Linked DNA regions of Homo sapiens: region 2 is linked to region 1. The links are contacts of gene promoters, found by promoter capture Hi-C in human tissues and cell types (Jung and others, 2019). All regions are on one chromosome and are shown on one strand. The core of a region is centred on a gene start or on the middle of the fragment in contact, and the rest is flanking DNA. Distances in the headings are between cores, read along the strand shown.

Evidence for each region. Contacts are between HindIII fragments. The study calls those that stand out against the background at their distance.
Region 2: a fragment that was not itself captured here is called in contact with the fragment with the promoter of KRT84 in region 1 in 2 of the 25 tissues and cell types used here (heart left ventricle and neural progenitor cells).

What each region holds. Positions count from the first base shown.
Region 1 is chr12:52,383,800-52,388,042 of GRCh38, forward strand. KRT84 (keratin 84) reads right to left here and starts at 1,853. Exons shown (of 9, transcript NM_033045.4): 1 at 1,241-1,853. The coding sequence starts at 1,786. The HindIII fragment of the contact is 12,479 bases long and covers 1-4,243 here.
Region 2 is chr12:52,758,786-52,763,028 of GRCh38, forward strand. No RefSeq gene overlaps it. Among named protein-coding and RNA genes, the nearest start is that of KRT76, 16 kb to the right of the region's middle. The HindIII fragment of the contact is 9,267 bases long and covers 1-4,243 here.

The DNA.
Region 1 (4,243 bases), core at 603-3,102:
TAAATCCACAGGGCACAGAAATGGCATTTGAAGTGCTTGATAGGGTTCATGCCTTGACCAAGCTCTTGAGATGGCCAGCGATGACTTGACCACATGTCGACAGGGTTCTCTCCTCTGCTGACTTTCATTCCTCCACTAACTCAGCAGAAGCTGGAAGGGCAGGTTGTGACTCCCTCCTTGTGCTCGGCTAGGCCTAGTTACCAATATGGGGTTTTGAACCATAGCACTTCAGTACCATTCCCCTATCCAGTCTCTAAGAAAGCTGTACACTGGTACATCAGGAAGTTGGAAGGGTTGATTCTATTTAAGCTCTGGTTTGCCTATATCTGAAAACTGATGCCAGGCATCCCTGGCAGAGAATGGGGAGCAGAGTAAACTACATTTGGGGTGGGATATGGTACTGGGAGGTAGGAATTCTCAGATTGTAAGTCCTATCCAACATCGCAGATATTCCATTGGCTATGTGTAGAGCTGGAAGAGAACTTACAGACCCTTTACCCCAGCCCCTCATTTTAGAGAGGAAGAACCCAAAACTTACAGAGGTTATCCTTCATTCTCAGACATAACCATTCCATCTCCACATAGACATGGTGTGTGGGATGTCAGTTCTTTTGGGTTATCCACATCACTGTTCCCACTCATCTGCCTGGAAGCCAGTGACTACCAGTGGTCATTCCCTGCAATTTCCCTGAATCTAGGCAACTTGGCCGAATTTTGATACCCCATGTGGGGGTATGAATTCTTCTTCTTTTTTTAATTACTCAACTCCATTCTCTACTTTTCTAAGCCTGAATAGATGAGGCCACTCAGCCTCAGAAACTATGAAAACTTCATAAGGAACAAAAGGATCTCAAAGAATAAAACCTCTTAAGCATATACCAGCCAACACCTGGCTAAAGTCCCAGTGTTTCCAGCCTGTTTCAGAGACATTTCTAAGTGACCAGATGCAACATCTTAGTTTGTCGAGATGCCCTCGAGTTTGGCTGGATGCTCCTCTGTCCTCCAGAAGATATCAACACTGTCGGAATCTATCCCACCATGCAGCTCGTCCTCTGGCTTGGCCTTGCTCTGCAGCAGAGCAACCCATAAAGCATACCACAATGCCTGAGGTAGGCACTTGAAAGATCTGAGGTCAAGGTCAAGTCCCCAGAACCGGGCCAGTTCTTTTTAAGGGAAAGAGCACTCTAGCGCATTTTGGCTGTAATATTCCTAGACCCAGAGATTCAGCTATCATAGGTACCTTGTCAATGAAGGAGGCAAACTTGTTGTTGAGGGTCTTGATTTGCTCCTTCTCATCCTTCTTCACCCTCTGGGCATTGGGGTCAATCTCCAGGTTGAGGGGGGTCAGTAGGCTCTTGTTCACAGTCACAGCTGTGATAGATGGGGCTGCTGGGACTCCAACCCCTCCAACTCTGTAACCAAAGCCAGGGCCACCAAAGCCATAGCCAATGCCACTGCCAGCTCCAAAGCCCAGACCAACACAGCTGTCAGCCCTAGGCCCCAGACCAACACCTCTCCCATCACCAAAACCCATCCCACAGCCAGCACCAAAGCGGACTCCACAGTGGATGGGCCGAGAGCCTACAGCTGCTATCCGGGGTGAGTACGATCCAAAGGTGATGACACTCCGACTACCAAAGCTGCCAAGGCCCCGGAATCCAGGCCCACTCCAACAGGAGACAGAGTTGGCCCGGAAGCGATTCAGGTTCTGTGGTGTCATTGCTGAACAAGAGCTGAAGTTGCCCACCCGGTGACCAGAGCTGACTCGGTAGGAGCGGCAAGACATGATGGCTTCCTGGTTGGGAGCAAAAGAGCAAGTGTAGAATGGGTGAGCTGGAGCTGGGAGTCCCTCTGAGGCCAGTGGAACCCTTGCACCCCTTTTATGTGTGTGGTGATCTGAGGCTTGGCCCCATAAAAATGAAAAAATCCATTTGCAGGCATTTATGAGCTTGGGTAGTTAGCAGAAACTCTGCATGCCTATAACCTCCTTGACAATGAGTTAACTCAGACACACCTAGTCTCATTGGGATGAGGGCTGTAACAGCAAACCAATAAACATTAAAAACACATAAACATATAAACATTATAGTCTTTTTTTTCCCTATAAGTCTACCACAATTGCCATTAAGGGGACATTAATTTGCTTTGGTCATAAATGCAATAGGTTTTTTCACTGTGAGTGTGGCTAACCACCAGAAAGTTAGGATGGCGACAGCTCCAGCAAGAGGCTCACATGGGATGCATCCATGAAGATATAACCCCCTAAAGAGGTGGGAGTGTGTGCACATCTCCAAGTAAGAAGTGATATGGAGAAAATACAGTTTGTTGCATTTCTGCAAATCAATTAAATCATCAAAAAACCTTCTGCCATGTTTTATCCAATATGGCTGTTTAGTATACAAGAGTTGAATCTACAGTAAAGCTCATTTGGGCTAGTGTAGACACATCTGTGATTTGAGACACTCAGAGATATTCATTCATTCTACAGTTTTAGAGTGCCTGCTATGTATCCAGCAGTGTGCTTGCTGCTGAGGGTACAGAGATTACAAAGACAGTCTCTATCTTCATGGTAGTAGGGGAAGATTTATCTTAAATTTTTTTTTTTTTTTTAGAGACATGATCTAGTTGCCCAGGCTGGTCTTGAACTCCTGGGCTCAAGTGATCCTCCCGCCTCCGCCTCCCAGATAGCTGGGACTACAGGCATCCACCACCATGCCCAGCAGAACATTTATCTTGAGGATTTCCAGCAGTCAACACTTTGTGGCATGATTTGAGGCCAAAGCATTGGAAAGTTTCTGTATAGAAAGCTAACTACATGATTTTTAGCCCCCAAATATACCATAGGTGTGATTTATGGGCCTGTCCATTTAGGTTCCTTGAATTATTGATGAATCTTTGGTTAGGATAGAGAGACACAAAGCAATATACATCTGGATAGAAAAGGAAAAGTTCTCAGCAGCTGAATATTATCATTGTTAGCAATATTGCAGCTCTTTTAGGACCCTGAGCCAGGCTGGTGTTTACCTTTTCTATTCTAGTGCATCCTTTGCCCAGGGGAACTCATGTTTGACTGGACGCTTGAGATTCTTTGGGATGCTTGCAATTCCACTTGGAAGGGGATGTATGCTTTTGACCAGAAGCATCCAGCTCATTTGTGCGGTATTTTCTTTTTCCAGCTATCAGCTGTATGTCTAAGGGGGAAATGAAGCAGAAAAACAATAAGAAGTGCATACTTCTCGTCAAGACCACCAGTGGCCTCCATGTTAAATTCAATGGTCTGTCCTCAGTTCTCACTTTCTTCACATAGCTGACCATGCCCTTTCTCTTGAAACACGCTCTTCTTTTGATTTTCGGACACTACACTCTCTCGATTTCTTGCCACACTCTTTTCAGTCTTCTAAGCCAGTTCCTCCTCATATCCCCAACCTCTAGACACTGCAGAGTCCCTGGCTCAATCCTTGGGTATCTATTCTCTTCTTTAGACTCATTGCCTTGGTGATATTATACAGACTCAGGACTTTAAATACCATCTGTTCATTCATGACTGCCAAGGCACAACTCTATCCCAGACCTCCCTACCCCTAAACGCCACACATATATTTTAACCAACATCTCTATTTGGATATCAGATAGGCATCTCAAACTTAATACAGTTGTCCCTTGGTATCCCCAGGTAGTTGGTTCCAGGACCCCTTGTGGATACCAAAATCCATGGATGTTCGTCGAGCCTCCGATATACAATGGTGTAGTATTTGCATGTAACCCACACACATCCTTCTGTATACTTGAAATCATCACTGGATTATAATACCTAATACAATGTAAATGCTATGTAAATAGTTGTTATACTTTATTGACAAGAAAAAAGTCCGTACTTGTTCAGCACAGATGCAATTTTTTTAAGAGTTTCAATCTGCAGTTGGTTGAATCCACAAAGGTGGGAGCCACAGATACAGAGGGATGACTTTATGACCAAAACTGTTCTCCTAATTGTTCCTGCTAAATATGTTCCACTTGCCAACATCACTATCTCTGCAATAGTTCATGCCAGAAATCTTGGAGTCATCCTTTTGTCCTCTGTTTTTTATTTCCCTTTTCCCACATTCAATTCATTGGCAAATTCTCCCTTCAAAATATATCCAGACTCCTACTCCTTCTCACCATCCTGCTGCTCCCATGCTGGCCCAGGCCCATCTCTTCCCACAGGATCTTCTGAACTACACTCCCAGCTGGTCTCCCAGCT
Region 2 (4,243 bases), core at 1,257-3,756, 380 kb after region 1:
GGGAGCGAAAATCTAGCCCATACTCTAGTCACCGAGCTGTGTGCTCTGCCATGGACTATGTCCACCCAGAAGAACACAAACATATGTTACTTTACACAAGTGCTATCCTTTGCTAAGACATGCAACCATGAAGCTGTCTGCACAGAATGGACATCTATTTCTAATTCACAAAAAGACCTGAGAGGTCCAGAAGACTTCAGAACACCAGTTTAACATCATGAGTTTCAGCATGAGAAGAATCTAGCGCTAGAAAACCTTCACTTGTGCCTCACTGGTCTTCAGGTCAGTTAAGTCATGTTGTGGTGAAACCCCATGAGTCAAATCCTGGCTCCCCACCTCCTAGTTACATTACCTCAGGTAAGTTGTTTAACCCACTATGCCTTGAATTCCACCTATCAGATGAAAATTTGCTGTGAGGATTAAATTATTTTAGAACATGTCCTGGTACATAACAAGCACTCAGTGCACATTAGCTTTTAACTAGTAGTGTCATCCTTATGTACAATGATAGAAAATCTTCTCTGGACCATCAACCACACAACACACCCTCTCATCAGCGGGGTCTTTGTTCTCCAAAGTTTGCATGTGGGTGCTGTTGCCACATTTGTTCAGTGCTTTCCTGTTTTAAAAAGGCAAGTGAGTACAAGGGTGTGTGTGTCTATGTGTGTGGGAGGTAAGGCAAGGGTTACAGTCAGAAGGCTCAGGGCATCGGCCAAGTGTGCAGAGGGAAACTGAGCAGACTGATTCAGCCCTATATTAAAAACCATGCCAATTCTAACTAAACCATTTCAGCTTTGATTTTACAAAGCTGAAAATAAACTAAAAATGCCTCAAGTCCTAGGTTTTCTCTGTACTTCTATTACAAAGCATTATTGTTGGCCAGCTAAGACCCTGCATCTTAATTACCAGTTTTGCAGGGCAAAACATGCATGAAATGAATTTATGGGAATTCAAATGTGGACTATTTGGCCTTGACTGTGAGTAACCCCAGCTTTAATAAGGCAAAACGCCTGGCTTGAAACAACCAAATAATTAGTCTAAACAGTGGGAGTGAGAAAGGAGCTCTAATACATACATTTTGTTAATTGCTGTCCCCTGTTGCCAGCAAAGGTGAATTGGAAGAGGTCAACCGGAGCCCCCTGGAGGCAAGGAGGACAGTTAGGAGTTTGTCTCTGTCAGCCAGGGATGAGTTAGCAAGAGCCATTACTTCAGTGAACTGGGACACCAGAGTTGGACCTCAGAAATTCAGCCAGTGGGAGAAAGAACATCTGGAATAGACAGAGAAGGCAGGAGGGGGCCTGGGAAGCCTGGCCTAAGTAGCAGCAATCCCTACTCCAGCCCTAGCTTGGCTTTCCTGAATGTCCCAAGCAAGCATTTACCATTGATCAAATGGCAGCATGCCAGAGAAGCCCACCCCCTCCAGAATCCCTGCAGAATGTTCTCATGAGTTCTATATGTGTGGTGGGCTGCCTGCCATCCCTGGGCCTTCACCTCCAGGGTCTTCAAGGATCCCAGGGTCTTCTCCATGCTCCCAGGGCACCAGCTTTTACCAAAAAAAAAGGTAACCTCCCCATCCAAATCCCAGTCAACCAGCCAACTGACCAGCTCCCTCTGGCCCTGTCTCAGTTCAAATTCCCAAAAACAGACTCAGATGAAGATTTGTGTACAGGAAGTTTATTGGAGAGGATCAATATGTAAGGAAGTGAATGAAGCAGGATTGGGGATTGGGGAAAAGTTAAACTCCTATGTAGTTGGGTTGGCTGCAACAAAGGTCTCAGCAAATCCCACCAAGCACTAGACCTGCCAATGGGGAGAGATCATAGCCTAGGGCAAGGTGTTCCTGGAAAGGCACTCTTCTAAGAGCAATCAGGAGCCACAGCAGCTGGAGAAGTGAGTGCTAGGTTCTCAAAAGGGTGAGAGCCCACCACCCATCCACTACAGACCCCACCTAGGGGGCTGATCCTGCTTCTGTTTCTCTCCCAGCCTTGCCTCACTCTGTCATCTCATCTACTACCACAGACATAATTTTGGAGGTGGCCTCTTCCCACAACTTGGCCCCACTTCCCTGCAATCCTGTAAGCCCCTCTGCTGTCCCTCCTGCTAAGCTAGGTTATCAGGGGAAACACCCCACATAATTCAATGTAGGTTCTTTTCTATTTTCCCTAAGTGTAGGCTGGTCTGAGAAATAAAGGGAAAGAGTACAAAAGAGATAAATTTTAAAGCTGGGTGTCTGGGGGAGACATCACATGTTGGCAGGTTCCATGATGCCCCCCAGGCCACAAAACCAGCAAGTTTTTATTAGTGATTTTCAAAGGGGAGGGAGTATACGAATAGGGTGTGGGTCACAGAGATCACATGCTTCACAAGGCAATAAAATATCACAAGGCAAATGGGGGCAGAGCAAGATCACAGAACCAGGGCAAAATTAAAATTGCTAATGAAGTTTCGGGCACATATTGTCATTGATAACATCTTATCAGGAGACAAGGTTTGAAAGCAAAAAACTAGCCTGACTAAAATTTACTAGGCAGGAATTTCCTCGTCCTAATAGGCCTGGGAGCGCTACAGGAGACCAGGGCTTATTTCATCCCTTATCTACAACTGTATAAGACAGACATTCCCAGAGCAGCCATTTTAGAGACCTCCCCCTAGGAACGCATTCTCTTTCTCAGGGCTGTTTCTTGCTAAGAAAAAGAATTCAGCGATATTTCTCCTATTCGCTTTTGTAAGAAGAGAAATATGGCTCTGTTCCGCCCAGCTCTCGGGCAGTCAGATTTAATGGTTATCTCCCTTGTTCCCTGAACATCTCTGTTATCCTGTTCTTTTTGCAAGGGGCCCAGATTTCATATTCTTTAAACACACATGCTTTACGAACAATTTGTTCAGTTAACACAATTATCACAGGGTCCTGAGACAACATACATCCTCAGTTTACGAAGATGACAGTATTAAGAGATTAAAGACAGGCATAGGAAATCACAAGAGTATTGATTAGGGAAGTGATAAATGTCCATGAAATCTTCACAACTTTATGCTCAGAGATTGCAGTAAAGACAGGCGTAAGAAATTATAAAAGTATTAATTTGGGGAACTAATAAATGTCCATGAAATAGTCACGATTTATGTTCTTCTGCCATGGCTTCAGTCAGTCCCTCCATTTGGGGTCCCTGACTTCCCACAACACTAGGTTCTCTCTTTGTCACCCCACCCCAACTATTCTCAGCATCCCCAACAGGGCACTGATTCTGGCACAATTGTGAATGGTTGCTGGATTCTTGAGTGACTAAGGTGCTGTTGGAGTCCTTGCCTCAGGCAAGCAAGAAGACAGGAGCAGCAGCTTCTTCCCAATGTGGAACCACAGAATGGGACTAGGATATATGTAGGACTGGCTTCTAGGTGACTTGCCAGGAGCTATGGTGGTACAAGGATCAGGCTCCCCTGAAGAAGGTGGACTAGACAACACCAGGGCCCCTGGCAAAGAAAAGCAAGACAGGGTGGAGACTGAAAGCTCAGGTTGTAGAGGACAGTCAGTGGGCCCCCTTTAGGGAATTTTCTCCAGTCCTGTCAACACTCAGCATATGATATTAGTATAAAATCCTCTCCATTCATATCATCCTTCCCCAGTAGGTTCTGCTTTGCCTTTGTCTCTTTAGGGGGATCCAGATCTAAATAGACCATCCAGACATAGTCTAAACAATGCAATGTGCCCTGGACAGCCTCTGCTAAAATTGGGATTAAAAGAAATCATTATCTTTTTCTGCTCAAAATGTTGATAGGTCCTTTGATCTCAGACCTACCACTAGGCTGATCATACAGTAGGTAGCCAATAAAATGTGTCTTTCTTTCATCCAGTCATGATACCATGGCAACAGTTAGATGAAATATTTATCTGCATTTATAAGACACTGTTTATAATATCTTTTACAAACAAATGGCTAGTTTTGTTAATCTACAAAGAGTATGTACAGATTATTTAGAAAAACAAAATGATCACTCAAAGAGAAAATGGACTGAATAAGTGAAGAGACAATTCACAGAAAATGAAAGCTAAATAGCGAATAAACATATTTGTAATGCTCAACCTCATTAGCAATCAGATAATGAAAATAAAACAGAAAACTGTCAAAAAAAAAAACTAAAAAGAATACCACACAGTGTTCAGAAGACTGTGGAGAAATAGGAAGTCTTATACGTTACTTACAAAAGCATGAATTGGTACAATCTTTCTGGAGAGCGGCCTGAC